Linked DNA regions of Homo sapiens: region 2 is linked to region 1. Evidence: promoter capture Hi-C in 16 types of primary human blood cells and fetal thymus (Javierre and others, 2016). All regions are on one chromosome and are shown on one strand. The core of a region is centred on a gene start or on the middle of the fragment in contact, and the rest is flanking DNA. Distances in the headings are between cores, read along the strand shown.

Region 1 (5,891 bases), core at 2,036-4,535:
AACAAATTTGCAACAAACTTAGCACCATAAAGAATAAGACTCTCATCAGTGGTAACAGTGAATAATAAAAGCCCACTAAGTCCATTAAGTATTTAGTAATACTAAATAAAATAAAATATAAAAAACGAGAGTAAATAGGAGGGGAAAAGTTGTTCGTTTTGGAAGAGTATTTAATAAATACAGAGGAAATATAATATTAGAACATTTTACAACTTCCTGATACTGATTCAAGCATGTCCTTGTTGAAATTCTTCAAAACCTGAATCAAAAGTTTCAAGTTTCTCATTCATATGTAATATATTAGTCTTTAAAACCAAGCCACAAACATACAGCTTAAAAGTAAATGGAAACCACTAGATAATTCTAAACTTTTCTGTATTTTCCAAATTTTTACAATGACCACGTCTTAAGTTTACAACCAGAAAAGAGAAAAAAACCTCGTTTTAGATATACATTGCAAAACAACATTTAGGCACTTACTATGTGCTAGGTACCAGTCTAAGCTTTTTCCTATCCTTAATCCACATTAAGTAAAAACTATCAGTACTCCTGTTTTACACATGAGGAAACCGAGGGTTTCATAAATCATAATTACCGAGGTTGAAAACAGAACCCAGACAATCTGATTCAAGAGCTCATGTTATTTTTATTTTTTATATTGGCACCATGTCATTCTATACCTAAATACTTCCAGGCAAATAATTTAAAATTAAAAACATTCAAAGCCCATTTTCTTAACCACTATTACACAGTTACTCAATTAAATTTCAAAGATCCAGTAATGGTGAGTACCCCTCTGGTGCCCTGATGGTGGAGTAAGCTGGCTGCTATGCAGAACAACTGGCCACACATATTTAAAAAAAAGAAGAAAAAAAAAAACTGTTCATTGTCCCGGCGATTTTGTTTCATATACTATACCCTAGAGAAACACTAGCATATACACACAGAGACATACATAAGCATATTTTTACAGCAGCAGTTTGCTAAAGCAAAAACAGATGAAAACAACACATATGTCCAACAACAGCTGAACAGGCAAATAAACTATGCCAGAGCTAGCTCTACAGTGGAACATTAGGCAGCAGTTAACCAGGATGAGCCAGATTTATGTATGTTGGCATGGAAAAGACCTCTTAAATATAATGCTGAATGAAAAGGGCAAACAGGACTACACTAATACACTATGATCCTATGTACTTAAAAAAAAAATTCTGTAGAATTAAAAATTTCTGCAAGTATTAACTTTTTTAAAAATTGGTTCTTTCATTGAGCATTTATATTCTTTTACATATAAAATTTTACGTAAAAAAGATTTTATGACCGGGTGCACTGGCTCACGCCTATAATCCCAGCACTTTCGGAGGCCGAGACAGGTGGATCACCTGAGGTCAGGAGTTCGAGACTAGCCTGGCCAACATGTTGAAATCCAGTCTCTACTAATAATACAAAAAAATTAGCTGGGTGTGGTGGCGCACGCCTGTAATCTCAACTACTCGGGAGGCTGAGGGAGGAGAATCGATTGAACCCAGCAGGTGGAGGTTGCAGTGAGCCAAGATCACTCCATTGTACTCCAGCCTGGGTGGCAAGAGTGAAACTCCGTCTCAAAAAAAAAAAAAAAATTACCAAAAAGTTTGCATAAATGCACAATAAAAGAACTGAAAAGCCTATCCCTGGGCAGGTACAGAGTAAAGAAAGATAACAGAACTTCAGCATTTACTATACTGTTTCTTAGTTTCTGCTAAGTATTACTCGTGTAAAGTACTAAAGACACCAGAACCAGTGCTTCCCAACCAAGTGAGAAAACTGCTGAAAATGATCCCAATTTTGTAAAAGCAGTAAATAAAATTCTCTAGATGTACACTTACGTTTTTATCGGCATGGGGTGAAATGGGGAAGAATACAGCCCTAGCTGCTGTTTGGGGAAATGACAAGGCATTTCATGGAGACGACTTTTTCATCTTTACATTGATTCACCAGTACAAGCAAGCATGATTACCTTTATACTTTTTCTAAAACGAAGTTAATTTTTTTAATGAGAAACGATTACCTGGAATAGTCTCCAATTTTAGCCTATACTAACTACAGAGAGGGAAAACCATCTCTACTCACTTTGTCACCTATCCGGCAGAGGTACTCGGCCTTTGCCATCATTGCATCGCGAATTTCGCTCTCTCCTAGATTCTTCTCTGCATCTTCCAGCTCCTCATCCAAACGCTTCAACTCATCTTCATTTGCCTTCTTCATTTTATTGAGTAGGTCCACGTCTATCTGCCAGTCGAGGGATTTGCACAAGGCTTCATAGTAAGGAGCCATGTCTAACATGCAAAAAGAGGGATGTGTGAGTGGGGACACTTGTGCCCTCAAGTCAAAGTCTGCCCACGTATTTCACCCCCCGCCCCGCCACAAGTCATCCACCAGTCTCTTCCCCACTAACAGGAAGGCATGCGATGGCGCTTAATAATCGGCTTGGCAAAACATAAACGTATGCTGGTGGGAGGTTTGCGTGACGGCCAATCCTGGCAATGCCAACCTCTACTAGGGCTGGAGGGAGGGCAATCCTCGGTTTGCTCTTGCCGGATTCTGTTCCAAAAGTCTTCAAACAGGGAAAGACTTTTTATACACACATACTCACATACATATGTTCAAACATACACATTCACTACAGAAGGGCCAGAAAGAACCGAACCCAAATTTCCCTTCCACAGGCAAGCTGAACTCTCCCACAGGAATACCCCGCGCCCGGGAGCAGTCCCCACTGACAGAAAGTCACGGGGCCTTTACTCTGTGCCTAGCACAGGGGTAAATATTAATGCCTCACGATTCTCCCCCAAGCTGCCCTTACAGGGGAAGGCGGCACAGAGAGATGCAGACCCCGCTGAGGCAAGTCGAGGTCCCCCAGGGTATCCCCAAACCAAAGCAAAACCCTAAGGGCCGGAGAAGCCAGGCCTGGTCTCTGAGACCCCGTCAGAGGGGTCTGGAGCTCCATCAAAAAAAGTCCCCGCAGGCTCCGGAACGCGGGGACGGCCCAGGCCTAGGCCGCTGACTCGGCGCTCGTGCGGGCCTCACTGTTATCGCGGACGGCCGCCATCAGCTCGTCGCGCACGGCAGCGTCTCCGCGGTGCTCGGGCAGGCTGAGCAGGAAGCGCAGCTGCGCGATACGCAAGTCGGGGTTCTTGGGCAGACCCTCCTCCTCCAGGTTCTCCAGCGGCATCGCGGCGAAGGGGACAGCGGCTGACAGGACACAACTTGGTTACGACCGGCTGCGGCAGCGGAAGCGGGAGGAGTCGGCGAATACGCCCGGCCGCCTGCGGCCCGGCTTCCGGTCCCGTCTCCGCCGGCAGCGTCCTCTGCTGGACACCTCCGGGAACGCCTCACCCGGCCTGGGCGCCTGCGCCCCTGTGTGGTCACGGGGGCTTTTCCACCCTCAAGGCCCCCTGCGGAGTCCCAGAGTGGGTGCAGCCCAACTCAAAAGCCCAATTTCTTGAATCTCTTTCTCACTCCCTTTTTAGCTATTTTACTTTCCGTTTGTAACTGATGGGAGCTTAAAATTTTTTGAAAACTGAAAATGTAATAACAGCATTAATAAAAACAATCACCATAGTTTGTCGAGTCGTTACTCTCATTCATCTTATTAAAATCATCTTCATGCTGCGAGGTAGTACTATTAGCCTATTTAGTAGGTAAGACAAATGAGGCACAAAGAGGTTAGGGAAACAGACCAACCAAGGTCATGTAACAGCCATGTCGCAAGGCCTAAATGAAAACCCCTATCTAGAACTCTAAAATCCACATTCTTTCTGCGGTTTTAAGAAGAAAAAAAAACTGCACCCAGGATTCTACGTCATAGTACAACAGCATCATCGTTTTGTTTACACATAAATTAAATCATTACATGCCTGCATTTTCAGCTTCCTTTTGTTCACATTGCTACAGATCTTCAGAGGTGGTAATCTTTACATTAAATTCCTTTTTTTTTTGAAACGGAGTCTTGCCCTGTCACCCAGGCTGGAGTGCAGTGGCACAATCTTGGCTCACTGCAACCTCTGCCTCCCAGCTTCAATCGATTCTCCTGCCTCAGCCTCCCAAGTAGCTGGGATTACAGGCCTGCACCACCATGCCGGGCTAATTTTTGTATTTTTAGTAGAGACGGGGTTTCACCATGTTGGCCAGGCTGGTCTTGACCTTCTGACCTCAAGTGATTCCCCCGCCTCAGTCGTCCAAAGTGCTGGGATTACAGGTGTGGGCCACCATGCCTGGCCTAAATTCCATCTAATGGATTTACCATAATTTACTTTCACTCTTCCCTCTGTTAGAGGTGTCTTTAGGTTGACCAGAGTTTTTACTTACCTAATATAAAAACTTGGATGAAGACTTTGGATGTCTAGATCACTTCATGTTTTGCATCTTTTTCCTTAGCATAAAATCCCATGAAGGAATAACGGACAAAGGGAAGAAGGATTTTGTGACTTGGGGATATTTAATGTTAAATGGTTTTCCAAAAGAGCTGAACCAGTTTACACAGCTGCTGAAACAGGTGAGACTGCCACATCTCACAGGCAGTAGGCATCATCACATAATTTAAATCTATTATTTGTTTCTATAAAAATGAAACAAGCATTTTGAAGACAACTCAAATGATAGAGAAAATATGAAGAGTAAAAAAAAAATACTATTAAATAGCTCTCCACCACTGCTAAACTTTTGGTAAAAAACTTTCTAAAATTCTTTCATTTAGTCATTCAACAAACATGATTGCATGGTTACAAAGTACCAGGCACTGTCTTAGGCCTCAAGGACTCAGCAGTGAAGAGCACAAAGCCCTGTCTTTGGAACTTACATTCCAGAGAAGCATAGCTTCTTTAAAACTCATCTGGGTATATTAACATGATCATTCTATACTCGCACATTTTAAACTGTGTTTTATTCATTCTACCATGTATTGTGGATATCTTGGATGACAATGGATTGACCATATAGGATTCCATTATATTTATTTCTGTTTGTTTGTTATTTTTGAGACGGATCTCACTCTGTTTGAGACGGATCTCAGGCTGGAGTACAGTGGGGTGATCTTGGCTCACTGCAACCTCCATCTCCCGGGTTCAAGCGATTCTCCTGCCTTGGCCTCCTGAGTAGCTAGGATTACAGGCACGTGCCACCAAGCCTGGCTAATTTTTGTATTTTTAGTAGAGACGGGGTTTCACCATATTGGCCAGGCTGGTCTCGAATTCCTGACCTCAGGAGATCCGCCCACCTCAGCCTCCCAAAATGCTGGGATTACAGGTGTGAGCCACCACACCCGGCCCATTATATTTCTATACCAACTTTTTCTTCATCAGTCCTTAAGTGCTGGTTGATTTGGGTTATTTTTGTTTTTTTCAATCTTATTAATATTACAGTGTCACTTATCCGTGTACATATATATTTTCACACTTAAATAGTTATTTCTCAATCTAAATCTCTAGACGTGCAATTGCTGAATAAGAGGGCATTAATATTTTATATTTTGATGTATTCTGTAAGTATTTTATGAATTATTTTCCACAAATGATATATATATCAATTTACATTGCCACTAATATTGAACAGAGAACCTGCAGGGGAGAAAAAGTAGTATCCTTTCTTCACCCATTGCGAGGTTCATAGCTGAGGCACCTATAATAAAAGATAGAATAGCAGGGCCAGGAGAGGTGGCTCACACCTGTAATCCCAGCATTTTAAGAGGCTGAGGCAGGCAGATCACGAGGTCAGGAATTTGAGACCAGCCTGGCCAGCATGGTGAAACCTCATTAGCAGGGCATGGTGGCGCACACCTGTAGTCCCAGTTACTCGGGAGGCTGAGGCAGGAGAATTGCTTGAACCCAGCAGGCGGAGGTTGCAGTGAGCTGAGA
Region 2 (5,891 bases), core at 1,780-4,279, 110 kb before region 1:
GCAATTTGCTATTACTGGTGAATGTTTCTTTGGGAGAGTTCATATGTACATGCAAACATATGATTAAGAAAACAATCCAAAAATTTAAGGGTTTGAGATGTTTAGCAAATGATGCATTTTACTATAGAATGAGTATGTGTACAGGTTGAGTTTTCAAAAAGCTATTTATGTCTTATCTTTTAAGTCCTCACTCTTGCAACTTTCCTTATTATTCCTAATTTTGCACTTGATTGCTATGAATTCCAGCCACTAAGCTGATGAATTCAATTTACTCTTTCCACTGTTCTCCCTCTACTGGAATACTGATATTCATGACAAGCTGTAAGGTACTTCACTAGAGGGAGCATAGTTAAGGAAAGGCATGCCCCTTGTGCAGAATACAGCCCTGGCTCTCTCTGGAGAAGAACGAGGAAAGGGGAAAGATGTAGTCAGAGGAGTGAGAGAGGATTTGAACAAAGGCTCAGCCAATTTTAGGAAGATAAAAAGAAACCAAAGCCAACACATTCCTAATTTAGTGGATCTGAGTTTCTTGTTACTCAAATGACTTCAGTCCTTTGGGGTTGATAATGGAGAATCTCTGTTACCAACCCTGTAATTTACACAGATAAGTATACTGTAGTTAACTGCTTTTCAAGTTTATTAAAATGTTGTACTGGGACTGGTGGTTTTTTCCAATTGAAGACGGTTGTGTGGGATCTTGTATCTTAGAAATGTTTTGGGTAGTTTTAGCCTTTTTACATTAAACTGGATTTAATGTAGGAAAGGTCAACTTTTTGTTTTGTTTTGTTTTTGTACATTGTGATACCTTTGGCCTTGGAACAAAACATTTTATGAGTGCAAAGAATCCTTTTTGTAAAGAGAGACTTGTTAGCCTTGGCATCTACTGAGAACATCCCTAAATTTGGGTGACGAGATAAGACCACATTTTAAATATGTCCTTGGAAGGGATGAAATGCACAGAATTAGCAGTACTTCACCTCTGACAGCCCAGTTCTTAAGCCATAGACAATCTAGTTGGTGGTGACAGTTTTGATGAATTGTTTCCCCTACTTACTACTTTTCTCACATACTCAGTGAAATTACTATCTTGTGTTCACCCTGGTGCCTAGTAGAGTGCCTAGTCTGTAGCAGGCAATCAGGAATTGTTGGATAAATTGAATACTCATTATTCAAGCCATATAAAATGAATTATTACTTAAGTTTTCAGACAGTGAAGTTCCTCAGAGTTACAAGGCATCATCAGAAATGCACTGGCAGAAGCACTGATTGATATTATACAGGCATAATACTATATTAAAATAACATATTAAGTGAATGTAAATTGTATTGGCCTGGTGTGGTGGCTCATGCCTATAATCCCAACACTTTTGGAGGCCAAGGCAGGAGGACTGCTTGGGCTCAGGAGTTTGAGACCAGCCTGGGCAACATAGTGAGACCTTGTCATCTCCACACACACATACACACAAAAAAAATTTATACACAGTTATATTCTTTTTATAATTTGGTGGTATGGAAAGGGGATTATCTAGGTAAGAGGTCATCAAGTTCTTTACTGTGGGACTGTAGGTAATACAGCTAAGTATTGGGTTTCTGTTGTACTCTTGTTTATAAACAGTATGCTTTGCATAAGGAATGCTTTTAAAAGTTGCCAAAATTCAGATATCAGATGCAGTGTGTCAGCTTGCTGTTTTGACTTTTTTTGGTGACTCATTCCAACTTTAAGGAAACTTCTAACGACTATGGATATCAGAACATTTCTAGGAGTTAGGACTTTTTTATGGGTGAAGAAAGAGTGGGTAAAATGCATTGGCTGCAGCAAAAGAGAACTGGTTGAAGAAATACCAGGAAATGCCCGTCAATCTCTTGTCTGCACATCCTCTTCAGTTTGATAGTAAGTTTCCTAAGGGATTGAGCTGAATTGCTCAGTTTAATATAAGACACTTATTTATAGTGCTTATTTATGAGATTCCTCAATAATTGATAGCTTGCTATTAGTTTTGAGTATTGAGGTACTCAATAATTGGTAACTGCTATTTGTAATAATTTCCCTTAATAACGATCATAATGCCAAGAGGATACTTAATATTTTTCATTTTAAGCCCGCTTGTGTTTTATTAAACCAATCAAAAACTTTGAAGAAAAAAAGAGGTATCAAGCAGGAATTGGGAAAGAAGTTGAAGTACTCTAAATTGCTGCATTGATCCCCATTGGCTAGAAGTCATATTAGTGAATCTTGAAGTAGTTTCACATCCAAAAGAGGAAAGTCAAGCAATGTCTTGAGGAAGTAGGACCATACTTCATGTTTGCCATTCTCCTTATTTTTGTTCTCACTCTGTAGTTTCAGGGATCTGAAGAGCTGTACTCAACAAGCAAGCTCCCTTTGTTATCTATATGGCTTGGTGGCCGCAAGCTTTTCTTTTCAATGGTAGCTTCAAATGCCGTTAAAATCCAAATTTTCGTTTTTCTTAAGTGTAGAATTTCACAATTCCAAGTAATAAATTGTGTACTTTAGGAAAACAGAGGTTGGGTGTTTTCATGTAATTATTCAGATTTTGCAGTGATTTGGAATGAATGAAAAATTGAAAATCTGCATAGGGGTCATCTAAGCTATGTTAAAAGTTAGAAGGGAACTCTATTCCTGTCAAGGGAATTATATGTTTTACTCCTGTGCATTTTTCTCATTGATAGTCTTATGGAGGAAGTTAAAGCTGTAGAAATGATTTTTAAAATTAAATCTTTCCAATCATTTCTACTATTTTGGTTATTTTGATAAGGACAGGAAGTAACCATGGTTTCACTTTTTGGACTTGTTTGCACGCAATCCAGGAAAAAATTTTACAGACTTATTTCTAAATCTTTCTAAAATAAAAATGTGTGTGTGTGTGTGTATGTGTAAGTATGTGTGTGTGTGTGCGCTTTTAAATTTTGAACCCCAAACCCTCTCTAGCAATCCCACCTTATGTTTGGGTTGCAGTGACATTTCTTTATTAATTTTTATGCTTATGTAAACTTCCTGTGTTTCTGCAAGTTGGACCAACAAAGAAGTTGGCTACCTCTGTCACATCAGATGTTTGAGGTACAAAAAAAAAAAGAATTCCACTTCCTCCCCATCTAGTCAGAGAAAGCACTTGTGAGCAAGCATCTCTGACACACATTACAGGAGTTGATACTACTGCAGTGTGAAACATGCGTGAAACATGCTGATAAGAATCACTGTTTTTGTCTCAGGCTTCAAATTTTCACATCAATTTGAGAAAATAGTAATATCAACAATTATTGAAAGTGGTGTGGTCTGCTACTGTTTCAAGTATTTTTAATGCTTTAGGTCATTAAGTAGCCTTTTATTTTGCCATCTGTAGCCTATCGCTAAGCAAATGTTGTGTATGTTGGGGAGGGGTGCTAAGTTTTGCGGGCCAATGCTTAATTTAGTGAACAAAATTTGACCGAAAACAGTATTTTCTAAACATGTTTTGTAGGAATTCCTTATATTCTCCTAATCCCTAGGGTCTCGTCCTGCCCAAGAAAAGACAACCATAAAGAGGGAAGGACTAACAACTCAAGTTAAAAATGAATCAGATTTTTACTTTTGGGGTGAATGAATCACTTCCAGAAACTTGGGGTGGTGCCTCTAAAATATGTACACGGGTTAAAGCTTCTCTCGGTTTGTTTCACTCTCCTCCATTCCCTCGCACACTGATCTCATGTTCTCTCTTTGCTGGACGAATTCAAGTTCCCCAGGCGCACAGTGTGACTTCCAATTGCGGGTCGGGGGCACACATGTGGGCGGCGTGGCGTGCACACGGTACTTCGTCCTGACACCTGGGCAGACACCTGGGAGGCACTTCCCCGCTAGCCCAAGGTTCCCTGCACGCCCGGAGTCCGCTCTGCGGCGGCTTCCCATTCATGCTTTTGACAACTCTGCGGCCGCCCGCAAGCCGAGGGCAAAGTGCCCCCTGCACCAGCCTCTCCCGCGCTGCCCTGGGGCCGGCCGGCCGGCTCCTCCATAGGTGGCTGCATTTCCGACTTCGCCCTGGCTCCAGTCCGGGGGCTTGACGTGCAAACTTCGCCGGAGCGAGCTGAGAGGGAGGGACCGGCAAGTGGGAGGAGGCGGCGGGAGGCGTCTCCGCTTAAGGGAGCCGGCCGGGTGCCGCCGCTCGGACGGACGCGCGGACGGAAGGAAGGAGCGGGGCAGCCGGGCCGGGCCCGGGGATGCAAGCGGCCGAAGGGTGGGCAGCTGGAGGTCCTGGGGTGCGGCTCGGGCTTCCCCGCGCGGGCTGCCATGGTGGGGCGCGGGGTTGGAGCCGGGCCGCTCCGGCGCTGGCCTCCGCGCCAGGTCCTCTGAGCAGAAGCAGGCAGGGGACCCAGCGCCGCGGTGGCGGGCCGCCTGCTGCCCGTCCCCTCCCTCGGGCGGCCGCGGGAGTCGAAAGCGAAAGCTAGCCCGCGCCGCGGACTTTGAGCCCGGGGCGGGGGGTGGCCTTGAGGAGGCGGGCTCGGGGGGCTGGGCGGCCATGGGGGCGCTGTCAGCGTGCCCCACCCGGTCCGCGGGCCGCGCACGCCGCCGGAACTCCCTGGCGCCTCCTTAAAAAACGGCCCCCGCGCGACTCTTTCCCCCTTTTTTTTGTTACATTGTAGGAGCGGAAAGAATGTCGGAGCGGGCCGCGGATGACGTCAGGGGGGAGCCGCGCCGCGCGGCGGCGGCGGCGGGCGGAGCAGCGGCCGCGGCCGCCCGGCAGCAGCAGCAGCAGCAGCAGCAGCAGCAGCCGCCGCCTCCGCAGCCCCAGCGGCAGCAGCACCCGCCACCGCCGCCACGGCGCACACGGCCGGAGGACGGCGGGCCCGGCGCCGCCTCCACCTCGGCCGCCGCAATGGCGACGGTCGGGGAGCGCAGGCCTCTGCCCAGTCCTGAAGTGATGCTGGGACAGTCGTGGAATCTGTGGGTTGAGGCTTCCAAACTTCCTGGGAAGGACGGTGAGTGTCCACGCCCTCCTCCCCCCTTCACCCCCTCGCGACCCCCTCCTCTCTCCTCCCCTCCCCCCTGCCCCCCTCCTGTGACCCGCCCCCTCGAGGGGCAGAGATGCTATCGTTTGCTGGGTTGCGGAACGCGGAGGTGCCCACACCTACCCCGTGCGTGCGTGAGTGTGCGTCACACTCCTGGCCACTGACCTGCCTCTCCCCTCCTCCTGTGTGTGTATATCTCCTAGGGACAGAATTGGACGAAAGTTTCAAGGAGTTTGGGAAAAACCGCGAAGTCATGGGGCTCTGTCGGGAAGGTGAGTCCAGCCCCCCTGATGGAGTTTGTACAAACCCCTGGGAAGTTTCATTGACAGTTCACTGGGACCGGGAACATCAGCCCACCATACCGACTCCCCGACTCCCCGTGCCTGCGAAGATGCTGCCTGAGGAGGGAGGGAGGGGGCAGAGCGCTTGGAAAGTTTGGTTTGGGGGCCTCCTGTAATGAGAGCGTCCGGAATCCTTCTGTGACCAGGCAGGAGCAGCATTATTGGTGATGAGCGCTGGGAACCGGCGGGAAGTTTAACCTAGATCTCTGCATTTCTGACCTCCTTACGGAGAAACAGGAGTAGAGGAAGGAATTCTCAGCTTTGAAACCTTTCCACGAATGCTTAGGGGACATTTTCTGTTGGCAATCGAAACGAATTTTGAACTTAAAGAAGATGCTTTACCTATGCAGTCTTATTTCTGTAGGATTTAAGGTACAAGTTGGGGATGTTAGAAAAAGGTCATCATAACCCGGAGTGCATTTTGGTCAGATTTTTTGCGAGCTGCCAATATCACGGGGGAAAGAAAGCCAGAATTTTATTTGGTCAAATAAGCCTTTACTGCCCGTGGCTGGTGAAATCAGGGTCTAATTATTTGTTAGTTTTAAACTGTTT

The links. The method cuts DNA at HindIII sites, captures the fragments that hold promoters and counts their contacts. A CHiCAGO score of 5 or more calls a contact.
Region 2: a fragment that was not itself captured here is called in contact with the fragment with the promoter of PSMD6 in region 1 in 3 of 17 cell types (total CD8 T cells, total CD4 T cells and naive CD8 T cells); the score reaches 7.7 in total CD8 T cells.

Annotation. Positions count from the first base shown.
Region 1 is chr3:64,020,209-64,026,099 of GRCh38, forward strand. PSMD6 (proteasome 26S subunit, non-ATPase 6) reads right to left here and starts at 3,286. Exons shown (of 8, transcript NM_014814.3): 1 at 3,067-3,286; 2 at 2,110-2,315. The coding sequence starts at 3,211. LOC105377121 (a long non-coding RNA gene) reads left to right here and starts at 3,867. Exons shown (of 3, transcript XR_940906.3): 1 at 3,867-3,943; 2 at 4,417-4,534. RefSeq lists enhancers at 2,588-3,210, 2,895-3,244, 3,211-3,832 and a silencer at 3,395-3,494. The HindIII fragment of the contact is 6,204 bases long and covers 502-5,891 here.
Region 2 is chr3:63,907,956-63,913,846 of GRCh38, forward strand. It overlaps ATXN7 (ataxin 7), which reads left to right. Exons shown (of 13, transcript NM_001377405.1): 3 at 4,633-4,968; 4 at 5,202-5,270. The coding sequence starts at 4,644. It also overlaps SCAANT1. Among named protein-coding and RNA genes, the nearest start is that of ATXN7, 47 kb to the left of the region's middle. RefSeq lists an enhancer at 3,697-3,776 and a silencer at 4,107-4,946. The HindIII fragment of the contact is 1,242 bases long and covers 2,409-3,650 here.